3 separate regions of the Homo sapiens genome follow, and regions 2 and 3 are each linked to region 1. The links are contacts of gene promoters, found by promoter capture Hi-C in blood cells and fetal thymus (Javierre and others, 2016). All regions are on one chromosome and are shown on one strand. The core of a region is centred on a gene start or on the middle of the fragment in contact, and the rest is flanking DNA. Distances in the headings are between cores, read along the strand shown. Region 1 holds the start of IQCN (IQ motif containing N). Region 2 has its middle 9.0 kb from the start of MPV17L2. Region 3 holds the start of PIK3R2 (phosphoinositide-3-kinase regulatory subunit 2).

Region 1 (3,950 bases), core at 362-2,861:
GGATTATAGGCATGAACCATCGCGCCCAGCGTCCCCAGCATTTATTGACACCTAGTTGAGGCCAGCCCTCCAGTCTGATGGGGGAGTCAAGCAGGCATGAGCTGTGATGTGAAGGGCTTTTTCTAAATCACAGATCTGACTCCTTACTTGAAACCTTTTTGGAAAAAGTCCTGACTGCACCAGTCCCTGGGCTGGCCAGTGTCTCCTTTCAGGAGCCTCTCCACCCAAATTCCCAATATCCTGCCTTCCTGGCCTCAGGGTCTTTGCACGGCTGCAGCTGTAGTTCTGTGCCAGCTACTCTTCCCCCAGTCATGCAGCTGAGCGCCACCTCCCAGCCTCAGCTGCACAGTCCTCGGAAGCCTGTCCCTAGTAACCCTCAGGCTAGGCCAGCACCTTACTGGGCTCCTACGGTCTCCAATTGCCCTGAGAACTCCCAGTTTGTGTTTAGCTCGTTGACAGCACAGAAGGGACCTGTTCTGATGAAACATCCAAAGGATGAGCTGGGTGCAGTGGCTCATGCCTGTAATCCCAGCACTTTGGGAGGCCGCAGCAGGCGGATCACTTGTGGTCAGGAGTTTGAGACCAGCCTGGCCAACATGGTGAAATCCTATCTCTACTAAAACTACATAAATCAGCTGGGCGTCATAGCATGCACCTGTAGTCCCAGCTACTCAGGAGGCTGAGGCACGAGAATCGCTTGAACCCGGGGAGGTGGAGGTTGCAGTGAGCTGAGATCGTAGCACTGCACTCCAGCCTGGGCAACAGAGCGAGACTCAATCTCAAAAAACAGACAAAGGATATAAACCCCACCCAACTGCCATCTGCCATGTCCCTGATTTTGTCCAAAGTCACACCCACAGTATAGGGAAGGTTTTGGAGGGGGTGATCGCTGCAGAGGGAGGTCAGGCACCCCTGCTGGTTCTTGTCCCGGCAACCCCCAGCGGCTCCCCAAGGAAGCCAGGCAGAGGCTTCTGGGCCAGGCTGGCTTTGGCTGGAGCCAGCTGCACTGAGTCCAAGGTGCGTGTCAGCCTTGGCCCAGCCAGCGGTGACTCATGCTGGGCCCCAGCCCAGCCCCAGGAGGTGATCCAGGACAGCAGCCTGACTTCCCCTTATAGCGCTGCGGCTCAGGGTCAGTACCCACTTTTGCCGGGCCCAGTGGGGATCCCAAGAGATCAAGTCCGGCCCCACCCCAAGGAGCCCGCAGTCTCAGAGCCACACCCAAGACATCAGTGAGAACCCTGACTGGCCCGTTGCACCCCCTTTTTGGTCCCTTCCCATCTAGCCATTTTACAGCCTCAAATTCTTTGAGTTGTTTGTATCCCCAGACATGGGGCAAATTCCAGCATATAGTAGGTGCTCAGAAAATGCCCGTGGGATGAAAGACTGAAACTGCCTCTAGGTACATGGAGGGGGAGATTTGGGGTTCCCTCTGTGCTGAGAACCCTTTGTACTCAGGATGAGCCGGTGTAGGTAGCAACCACCATGACCTTTGGCCCTGCCCTGCATCCTGTTCCCCAACCTCTGGCTGTGCCTTCTAGAATCCCCACCCCCTAAGAGCTGCCAGGGATTGGCCAGAACTTGGCTTTGAGTCACAAAGCTGCTGCGGCACCAGGGCTCCAAGACTGGCCGTTCAGACTGCTAGGTTTAGCTTCAGGGGCAGGTGAGTGGGGCTGGTGGCTTTGGGGGCGGGTGAGTGGGGCTGGTGGCTTCAGGGGCGGGTGAGTGGGGCTGGTGGAGGACTTGTTTGCGAGGGTTCGTGGGGGACCCTGTCGTTCTCCTCTGGCCCCCAGTGCCTTTAGAGCCCTTCTGGGCCTTCTGGGTGACTGCAAATGATGGGTCAGCTCCTTGGCCCCTCACAGCAGGGGCTCTAGGGACCTCTAAAGCCTTGATGGTGGATTTGTTCACCTGTGATGGGGGACATCATGGAGAGCCTGTTATGTCTCTTTATTATTATTTTTTTAAATAAATAGAGACATGTTGCCCAGGCTGTTTTCAAACTCTTGGGCTGCAGCGATCCTCCCACCTTGGTCCCCCAAAGTGCTTGGATTACGGGCAGGAGCCACTGCGCCCAGCTGAGCCTGTTGTGTCTCTTTGGCAACCTGAGGATGGTGATCTTATGTCTTGTGACAGATAGGGAAATTGAGGCTCAGAGGGGTTTACTCAAAATTACCGAGCCAGTCGCTTGGCTTCTGTGTCCAGGGGGCCCCTGTTCCTTCTTCTCATCCCCCACAATCCCGTTTCTCACCCCTTCTGGTTGAGTTCCTCTAAAGAGCTGCACCGTTTGGTTGATGAAACCTCAGCCCCTGGAATGGGCCCATTCAGCTCCCAGAGCTGCTGTCTCCCGGGTTCAAGTGATTTTCCTGCCTCAGGAGTTCGAGACCAGCCTGACCCATATGGTCAAACCCCATCTCTACTAAAAATTCAAAAATTAGGCCGGGCAAGGTGGCTCACGCCTGTAACGCCAGCACTTTGGGAAGCCAAGGCGGGCAGATCACCTGTGATCAGGAGTTCAAGACCAGCCTGACCAACATGGAGAAACCCCATTTCCACTAAAAATACGAAATTAGGTGTGGTGGCGCATGCCTGTAATCCTAGCTATTTGGGAGGCTGAGGCAGGAGAATCGCTTGAACCTGGAGGCAGAGGTTGCAGTGAGCCAAGATGGCGCCATTGCACTCCAGCCTGGGCAACAAAAGTGAAATTCCGTCTCAAAGAGAATAATAATAATAATTAGGCCGGGCATGGTGACTCATGCCTGTAATCCCAGCACTTTGGGAGGCCGAGGCGGGCGGATCACTTGAGGTCAGGGGTTCGAGACCAGTCTGGCCAACATGGCGAAACCCCAACTCTACTAAAAATACAAAAGTTAGCCAAGTGTGGTGGCAAGTGCCTGTAATCCCAGCTACTCGGGAGGCTGAGACAGGAGAATCACTTTGAACCTGGGAGGCGGAGGTTGCAGTGAGCCAAGATCGTGCCACTGCACTTCAGCCTGGGCAACAGAGCAAGATTCCGTCCATCTCAAAAAAATAAAAATAATAAATATATGTGTGTCAATTATCCATGCATTGCCTCTTGTCTCCGAATGGACCCTTTCAATATGTGATAAACAAAGGAATTTCTTTCGTTATGTCTTGTTTAAAGTGAGCACAATGCTCGGCCAGGCGCGGTGGCTCACGCCTGTAATCCCAGCACTTTGGGAGGCCGAGGTGGGCGAATCACGAGGTCAGGAGATGGAGACCATCCTGGCTAGCATAGTGAAACCCCGTCTCTACTAAAAATACAAAATATTAACTGGGCGTGGTGGCAGGCGCCTGTAGTCCCAGCTACTCAGGAGGCTGAGGCAGGAGAATGGCGTGAACCCGGGAGGCAGAGCTTGCAGTGAGCCGAGATGGTGCCAGTGCACTCCAGCCTGGGAGACAGAACGAGACTCCGTCTCAAAAAAAAAAAAAAAGTGAGCACAATGCTAAGATTTCTCAATAGAGGGCGCTGGTGAGGCATTAGGGATAGAGGTGTGAAGACACCAGGTGAAGCCTGCCCGAGCCCTGGATCCAGAACGTGGTCCTGTGACTTTGCAGTCTTGACCTGGTGAAAACCTTTCTGCAGCCCTCTCAACACACACAAAAAACAGAGCCCCTAAGGCCGGGCGCGGTGGCTCATGCCTGTAATCCCAGCACTTTGGGAGGCCAAGGTGGGTGGATCACCTGTGGTCAGGAATTTGAGACCAGCCTGACCAATATGATGAAACCCCATCTGTACTAAAAATACAAAAATTTGCTAGGCGTGGTGGCAGGTGCCTGTAATCCCAGCTGCTCAGGAGGCTGAGGTAGGAGAATCGCTGGAAACCGAGAGGTAGAGGTTGCAGTGAAAGGAGATCGCGCCACTGCACTCCAGCCTGGGCGACAAGAACAAAACTCAAAAGAGAGAGAGAAAAAAAAAAAGGCCAGGCGCGGTG
Region 2 (4,254 bases), core at 1,755-4,254, 91 kb after region 1:
ATTTTTTCTTTATTTTTGAGAAGGAGTCTCACTCTGTTGCCCAGGCTGGAGTGCAGTGGCGCGATCTCAGCTCACTGCAACCTCCGCCACCCAGGTTCAAGTGATTCTCCTGCCTCAGCCTCCCAAGTAGCTAGGATTATGGGCGCCCGCCACCACGCCTGGCTAATTTTTGTATTTTTACTAGAGACGGGTTTTATCATGTTGGCCAGGCTGGTCTTGAACTCCTGACCTCAGGTGATCCCCCAGCCTCTGCCTCACAAAGTACTGGGATTACAGGCATGAGCTACCGTGCCCGGCCAAAATTTTTAAAAAATTAGCCAGGTGTGGTGGTGTGCAACTCTAGTCCCAACTACTTGGGAGGCTGAGACAGGAGGATTGCTTGGGCCTGAGAGGTCAAGGCTTCAGTGAGCTGTGATCCCGCTACTGCACTCCAGTCTGGATGACACAGCAAGACCCTGTCTCAAAACAAACACTTAGGTCTAGTTACTTTTTTCGGTCTCCATTTTTCTCGTGAGGGCTCCCATCTACAATGAATAAGCTTTGTGTGCTATTGTTTTGTTAATCTGTCTGTCAGTCTGAGCCAGACACCAGAGAGAGGAGGAAAGCTCTAGCCCTGCTAGTTTCTGGTGATGAGGATGGGCTACAATTGGCTGGGAATATCTGCTCCCTCTGGGGTCTGCAGGGGAGAAATGCTGGGACCTGACAAGCCAATGCAAAGTAAGAATTCAGCCGGACGCGGTGGCTCATGCCTGTAATCCCAGCTTTTTGAGAGGCTGAGGTGGGTGGATTACTTGAGGTCAGGAGATCAAGACCAGTCTGGCCAACACGGTGAAACCCCATCTCTACCAAAAAATAGCAAAATTAGCTGAGTGTGGTGGTGTGTGCCTGTAGTCCCAGTTACTCGGGAGTCTGAGGCAGGAGAATCACTGAAACCTGGGAAGCTGGGGTTTCAGTGAGCTGAGATAGCACCACTGAATTCCAGCCTGGGCAACAGAGTGAGACTTTGTCTCAGAAAAAAAAAAAAAAAAAAAAAAAGGCTGGCACGGTGACTCACACCAGTAATCCCAGCACTTTGGGAGGCCGAGGTGGGTGGATCACCTGAGGTCAGGAGTTCAAGACCAGCCTGGCCAACATGGTGAAACCCCGTCTCTACTAAAAATACAAAAAAATTATCCAGGCGTAGTGGCAGGCACCTGTAATCCCAGCTAATCGGGAGGCTGAGGCAGAAGAACCGCTTGAACCCGGGAAATGGAGGTTGCAGTGAGCCGAGAAAGTACCACTGCACTCCAGCCTGGGCAACAGAGCCAGACTCCGTCTCAAAAAAAAAAAAGAAAAGGACGAATTCTTATCAGGCTGGGATTATGGCTCACACCTGTGATCCCAGCACTTTGGGAGGCTGAAGCAGGAGGATCACTTGAGCTCAGGAGTTTGAGACCAGCCTGGGGAACATAGCAAGACCCCATCTCCACAAAAATTTAAAAAATTAGCTCGGATAGGTGGTGCATGCCTGTAGTCCCAGCTACTCAGAAGTTTGAGGCAAAGGGGATTCTAGAGCCCAGGATTTGGAGACTGCAGTGAGCTGTGATCACATCACTGCATTCCAGGCTGGGCAACAGAGCAAGACTCTTTCAGGGAAAAAAAAAAAGGTGCTGTATAACACCACCAGGTCACCCTTGGATACTTTCCTAGAAGAAGCCAAGAGCCCTCCTGGGCTAAGCCCAAAATTTGGGGCTCCCCTGCAATGGATCAGAACTGTGTTCTCAGAGGGCAATTTGGAAACCAACTGGCAAGTGAAAAATTTTAACAGTCTTTACAAATGTTAGCACAAAGCTTTCATGATCTGAGTAGGTAATCTTAACTCATTTCATCTGCCTCTGCAGATGCAAATTGGATCTCACTTATTTATTTATTTATATTTTTTGAGATTGAGTCTGGCTCTGTCACCCAGACTGGAGTGCAGAGGCACGATCTCAGCTCACTGCAACCTCTGTCTCCTGGGTTCAAGTGATTCTCCTGCCTCAGCCTCCCGAGTAGCTGGGACTACAGGCATGTGCCACCACACCTGGCCAATTTTGTATTTTTGGTAGCGACAGGGTTTCTCCATGTTGGTCAGGCTGGTCTTGAACTCCCAACCTGAGGTGATCAGCCCACTTCGGCCTCCCAAAGTACTGGGATTATGGGCGTGAGTCACTGCGCCTGGCTAATTTTTGTATTTTTAGTAGAGATGGGGCTTCTCCATGTTGCCCAGGCTGGTCTTGAACTCCCTGGCCTCAAATGATCTGCCTGCCTCGGCCTCTCAAAGTGCTAGGATTACAGGCGTGAGCCACTGTGCCCGGCTCCACCATTTTTTTAAAAACTAGTGAGTTTTGTATTATCACACCTGTCTCACAGCTATAATTTTAAAATGAAAGCTATAAGATTTCTGACTGCACCTATTTATGTTTATATATATATATGTTATAGGTATGTAACACTTTCTCCCTCTTGATGGAATTCCTAAAGATTAACTTGTAAAGGAGCTCTATTTCATTGACTTTAGAAAACCACATTTGCTTATGTAAATTAAGACTAGTCAAACAGGCTTATGTTATCTTTAGATGTTGAAGATTATAAAAGTGTAAACTGTAAAACTATAAAATAAACCTAAGAACAATACATGCAATAAAAGTGAATTGCTTGGCCAGGTGGTGGCTCAGATCTGTCATCCATCCCAGCACTTTGGGAGGCTGATGGAGGTAGGTCATTTGAAGCCAGGAGTTCAAGAACAGCCTGGGCAACATGGCAAAACCCCATCTCTGCAAAAAAAAAAAAAAAAAATACAAAAATTTACCACGCATGCTGGCTCGTGGCTCGCACCTGTTGTCCCAGCTATTCGGGAGGCTGAGCAGGGAGGATCGCCTGAGCCCTGGAAATGGAGGTTGCAGTGAGCTGTGATCACATTACTGCACTCCAGCCTGGGTGACAGAACAAGACCCTGTCTCAAAAAATAAATAAAAAAATTTTTACGAAGTGAATTGAGGGTGGGCACGGTGGCTCATGCCTGCAATCCCAGCACTCTGGGAGGCCAAGGCAGGCGGATTGCTTGAGTCCAGGAGTTTGAGACCAGCCTGGGTAACATAGTGAAAAGCTGTCTCTACTAAAAATATAGAAAATTAGCTGAGTGTTGTGGCTTGTGCCTGTAGTTCCAGACACTCGGGAGGCTGGGGTGGGAGGATCGCTTGAGCCCTGGAGGCAGAGGTTGCAGTGAGCTGTGATGTCACCTCACTGCACTCCAGTCTGGGTGACAGAGTGAGACCCTGTCTGAAAAAAAAAAAAAAAAAGGTGATTTGCTTAATGGATGTCAAGCCTGACAATAAAATTAATTTTAAAAAGTAAAGGAGAGACCCATATGTGGGTTTTTAATTTTTTTTGGTTCCTTGGATGGTTATTTTTTGAGATAAGGTCTTGCTCTGTCGCCCAGGCTGGAGTGCAGTGGCATGATCTCAGCTCACTGCAGCCTCCCAGGTTCAAGTGATTCTCATGCCTCAGCCTCCCGAGTAGCTAGGATTACAGGTGTGAGCCACCAGGCCTGGCTATTTTTTTTTTTTTTTGAGATTGAGTTTTGCTCTTGTTGCCCAGGCTCAAGTGCAATGGTGTGATTTCGGCTAACCGCAACCTCTGCCTCCCAGGTTCAAGCGATTCTGCTGCCTCAGCCTCCCGAGTAGCTGGGATTAGAGCTACCACCACCACACCCAGCTAATGTATTTTTAATGGAGATGGGGTTTCTCCATGTTGGTCAGGCTGGTCTTGAACTCCCGACCTCAGGTGATCTGCCCGCCTCAGCCTCCCAAAGTGCTGGGATTACAGGCACGAGCCACCACGCCTGGCCAATTTTTGTATTTTTTATAGAGATGGGATCTCACTGTGTTGGCCAGGCTGGTCTTGAACTCCTGGTCTCCAGTGATCCTCCCACCGTGGCCTCCCAAAGTGCTGGGATTACAGGTGTGAGCCATGGTGCTGCGTCCCATATATTTATTTTTTTAGGTTCTTTGCTTCTTTGATTTTTGATACTTGATTTGTCAACAAGAAAAGTAACTTAAGATGATGATTATTTTTTCAATGTTTTATGAAATGTTCATGAGTAATTAAGCATAATTGTTGAACACAAGTAAGTTAAATGAAAGTGAGATGAAAGCTTGTAAATAAGCTTTTCAACAATAATTATGTTTTATAGTATGCCTGCTTAAATATTGTTTTCAAAATCTGTTTGTAAAT
Region 3 (3,735 bases), core at 149-2,648, 120 kb after region 1:
AGCTGAACTAAGAGGTAGGGAACAAAGTCCAGGAAGAGGCCTCTACACAAGCAAAGGCCTCGAGGTGAGTCCAAGCAAATGGACCTCCAGTCTCTGCAGAGGAGGAGTGAGTGGGCTGGCAGGTAGCTCCAGCCTGGGGCCCAGAGTAGGCACAAAATGCAGATGGGGAGGTGCTTAGAAGGAACCTTAGCCCCAGGCAGGGACAGGGAGCCAGGAGAAGGTGGGGGTACTGCAGCTGAGGAGGAGGGGAGGCTGCCGGCAGCAGGGCATTGATTATTCCCCAGGAGTCCCAGCCTGGGGAGGCGGAGATAGGCACACATTCCCAGCCTAGCCCTGCGGGTTCAGACGCCCTGTGATGGACAGGGCTAGGGTCGGGGGATGGACGTGCTGTTCTAGAGAATGGATCATCACAGCGGATAGGAAGGCGCGACAGGCAGACGGAACGGCACATGCAAAGCCTTGGCAGTGGGTTAAGTTGCTTGTCAAGGATTCAGGGTGGCTATAAGGATAGGTGCTATCCACCAAGAGGCCCGAGTGTCAGGTGGAGGCTCTGAGCATCCTTCAGTCACGGGGAACCCCAAGAGGTGTCCGAGCAGGGCGGAGGGGCGCCACATTCTCGGGTGCCCAATTTACCCATTCCTAGGCCTCTGTTACCCTCATTCTACAGGTGGGGAAACTGAGGCCCCGAGAGGGGATGCCCAGAAAACCGCCTGGATCTGCCTGCCAGCCCGCCCCCACGCCCCGGTGTGCGCGCCCCGGGAGCAGCGCTCCCCGAATCCGGGAGGCGGGAGGGGCGGGGCAGGCAGGGCTGGGGGCTCCGCGGGTGAAGGCAGGGCCTGAGCGCTCACACAGACGCGCACTTGGGTCTGCGTGGACCCGGCCACCCGGCTAGGGGACCGGAAGTGGGTTCGACCCCCGGCCCTCCCGCACCCCATTCTGCCCCGCACAATGCCTGGGCGCCCCTCGGTACTATTCGAAGCCCCATTCCAGGCAGGGCCTCCCTTCATTTGGGGCCTCGGCTCCAGTCCGGTATCTTGGACGCGGGGAGTCTCTCCCCATTCTGCCCCGACCGTCCCAAGGAGGCTGCACCGCTGCGGAGCCGAGCCCGAGGCCCCCCCTTGCCTGCGGCCCCCCCAGTTCCCGCGGGGCCCGACGCAGCCTGGCGCTTGCGTTCTGGCTTCCACCGGGGCCCGGCACTGCCCCCGGGCGCCCCGCATTTAAGCACACTCCCAGCCGCCCCCGCCACGAGGGCCAGTCAGGACTCACCTGGTCGCGGCCGCCACCGCCGCCGCAGCCGCCGTCACACCAAGCCAAGCCCGCCCCGTGGCTCCACCGCGGCCACCGTCGCCGCAGCCGCGGGATCCCCGCCTCCGCCGCCGCCACGGTTCCGAGCGGCCTGGCCCGCCCCCGGCGGAAATGCCCGAGCGCATTCGAGCCGGGCGGATGAACCGAGGCCGAGGCGGAGCCTGAGGTAAGGGGGCACCCGAGTGTTTCCGGAAGTAGCCGAACGTAATCCCGCGGGACTGGTGGACTAGAGGGTGCCCCCGAGACAGCCGAGCGTTTCCAGAGGTAGCCGAGTGCAATCGGGTCGGCGAGGGATCCGAGACTGGGCTCGGCTGGGCTTAGAGACGCCCGAGCGCTTTCGGAAATGGCCGAACACTCTCTACGGCCGCACTGGCACAACTGAGGCTGATCCCCAAGACCGCGGAGCGTTTCTGGAAATAACCGAATGTGCTCAGTGCCCAATGGAGGCCTTGGGAGTTTAGACCCAGAGGCGACCGCCAGCTTATGGGAATTACTGAAGCATAGATGGTTCCAGGGGACAAATGAGGCGTTCTCAAGCTCAGCAAACAGGGGGCAGTAGAGTGGGGAAAGGGCCTGCCGCAAAAAGCAGAAGTCGGAGAAAGCCAGGGTTGAAGGAGTTTCCATGGCAACCCAGAGCGTCCGGAAACAGCCAACGATCTCGACCCCTACGGGCACTAGAATTTAGCGGACTTGAGCCTAGATGCCGACGGTTTCCGGAAATAGCCGAACGCACTCGGAGATGGGGCTGTAGCCAAGAGTGTTTGCATGCCGGCTGAGCGCCCCGGAAGTAACGGATTGCTCTAGGGCTGGGCCGGGTTCGGCTAGAGGGAGTTTTATGGCAGAGCGCAAGCTAAGACCAGGATAGAAAGGACGCGACGATTGCTTATTTTGTTATTATTTTTTGAGACGGAGTTTCGCTCTTGTTGCCCAGGCTGGAGTGCAATGGCGCTATCTCGGCTCGCCGCAACCTCCACCTCCCGAGTTCAAGCGATTCTCCTGCCTCAGCCTCCCGAGCAGCTGGGATTACAGGCATGCGCCACCACGCCCGGCTAATTTTGTATTTTTAGTAGAGACGGGGTTTCTCCATGTTGGTCAGGGTGGTTTGGAACTCCCGACCTCAGGAGATCCGCCCGCCTTGGCCTTCCAAAGTGCTGGGATTACAGGCGTGAGCCACCGCGCCCCGCCGCTTATTTATTTTATTAACATAGCCCAGGGCGCCCAGGAGGTCGAGGCTGCAATGTGCCGTGATTGCGCCACTGTACTCCAACCTGGGTTACAGAGCGAGACCTTGTCTCAAAAACATAAAAATAAAAAACATAGCTCAGGGCCCAGATGTCTGGAGGAAGCTTTTAAAGGCAGGGCTATGATGGAGTACTCGCAGGGAGAGGGTAGCAGGAGGCTGGTACCAGCGATGGCATCAGGAAGAATCTCAACAGCGAACTGCTATGCAGTCCTCAAAACCCACTTGCAATGACTTTGAGCCATGGGTCTATTTCACTCCGCTCCCCTCCCCACTCTTCCCTTCCTCCTTTCTCAGCCCCTCACAAATCCAGACGTTGGAGCTCATCTTTGTAAATACGGGCTTTTATTCACTGCCAGCTCCAGGATGGAAGGAGGGGGTGAATCATGCACAGCCTTGGTCTACCCTCCAACACTAGGCAGTGCTGGACAGGGGACTCAGAAAGGGAAGCAGAGTGGGCTGTTGATGTCTGGAAAGCTCCCTCACCAGAGTGCCCAGTGGGTCACACAGCATCATGGGGGATGAGCTGGGGCTGGAGTCGGCTGTATCTGACACCAGACCCTCCATTCAAGCTCCCTTGATGACAACGCCCACAACAGGGTCTGGCTGATGCTCCGTTCTGCCACGACTCCTGCTGGGTGATCGTGGGACAGGTCTCCGCCCCTCGCTGGGGTCTCAGCTGCTTTGTCTGTAAAATGGAGGTGATGACACCACCTCCAGCCTTCTCAAGGCTGGCTGAGGGAGAAGCCACGTAAAAGCGCTTGGCACACAGTAGGTGCTTAATAAACAGTCAATGGGATTAGTCTTGTAAACACAAGGAAACTGAGGCACAGAGTGGGAAAGCCATTTTCCCAGAGCCACACAGTGAAGCTGAAATTCAAACTTGAGCCTCGACTGGGTTTTCTGGCTTGAACTTCATCCCAGAGAGGCTCTGACATATGGAGGGAACCCCTAACAGGTGTTTCAGACACATCACGGCCAAGGGCTTACTCTGCTGGGCCTCAAACACACGGCATCTTGTCCAGGGTAGACTGGACAAGGCCAGGCCAAGGCAGAGCCTGAGGGGAGGGGACACTGAGTGTTTCTGGAAGTAGCTGGACGTAATCCCGCAGGACTGGCATACTGGAGCGTGCCCCGAGACAGCCGAGCATTTCTGGAGGCTGCCTTGGCAGTTCCAGGTGAGGCCTGTA

What was found. The method cuts DNA at HindIII sites, captures the fragments that hold promoters and counts their contacts. A CHiCAGO score of 5 or more calls a contact.
Region 2: a fragment that was not itself captured here is called in contact with the fragment with the promoter of IQCN in region 1 in 9 of 17 cell types (naive B cells, erythroblasts, total B cells and 6 more); the score reaches 7.3 in naive B cells.
Region 3: the fragment with the promoter of PIK3R2 here is called in contact with the fragment with the promoter of IQCN in region 1 in 3 of 17 cell types (neutrophils, naive B cells and total B cells); the score reaches 8.9 in neutrophils.

Annotation. Positions count from the first base shown.
Region 1 is chr19:18,272,113-18,276,062 of GRCh38, reverse strand. IQCN (IQ motif containing N) reads left to right here and starts at 1,611. Exons shown (of 4, transcript NM_001145304.2): 1 at 1,611-1,660. RefSeq lists enhancers at 987-1,106, 890-1,184. The HindIII fragment of the contact is 14,383 bases long and covers 1-3,950 here.
Region 2 is chr19:18,182,098-18,186,351 of GRCh38, reverse strand. No RefSeq gene overlaps it. Among named protein-coding and RNA genes, the nearest start is that of MPV17L2, 9.0 kb to the left of the region's middle. The HindIII fragment of the contact is 2,344 bases long and covers 1,833-4,176 here.
Region 3 is chr19:18,150,826-18,154,560 of GRCh38, reverse strand. It overlaps PIK3R2 (phosphoinositide-3-kinase regulatory subunit 2), which reads right to left and starts at 1,398. Exons shown (of 16, transcript NM_005027.4): 1 at 1,267-1,398. It overlaps MAST3 (microtubule associated serine/threonine kinase 3), which reads right to left. Exons shown (of 28, transcript NM_001393504.1): 28 at 2,874-3,735. RefSeq lists silencers at 528-747, 1,058-1,437 and enhancers at 1,548-1,827, 1,133-2,025, 2,568-2,647. The HindIII fragment of the contact is 8,629 bases long and covers 1-2,653 here.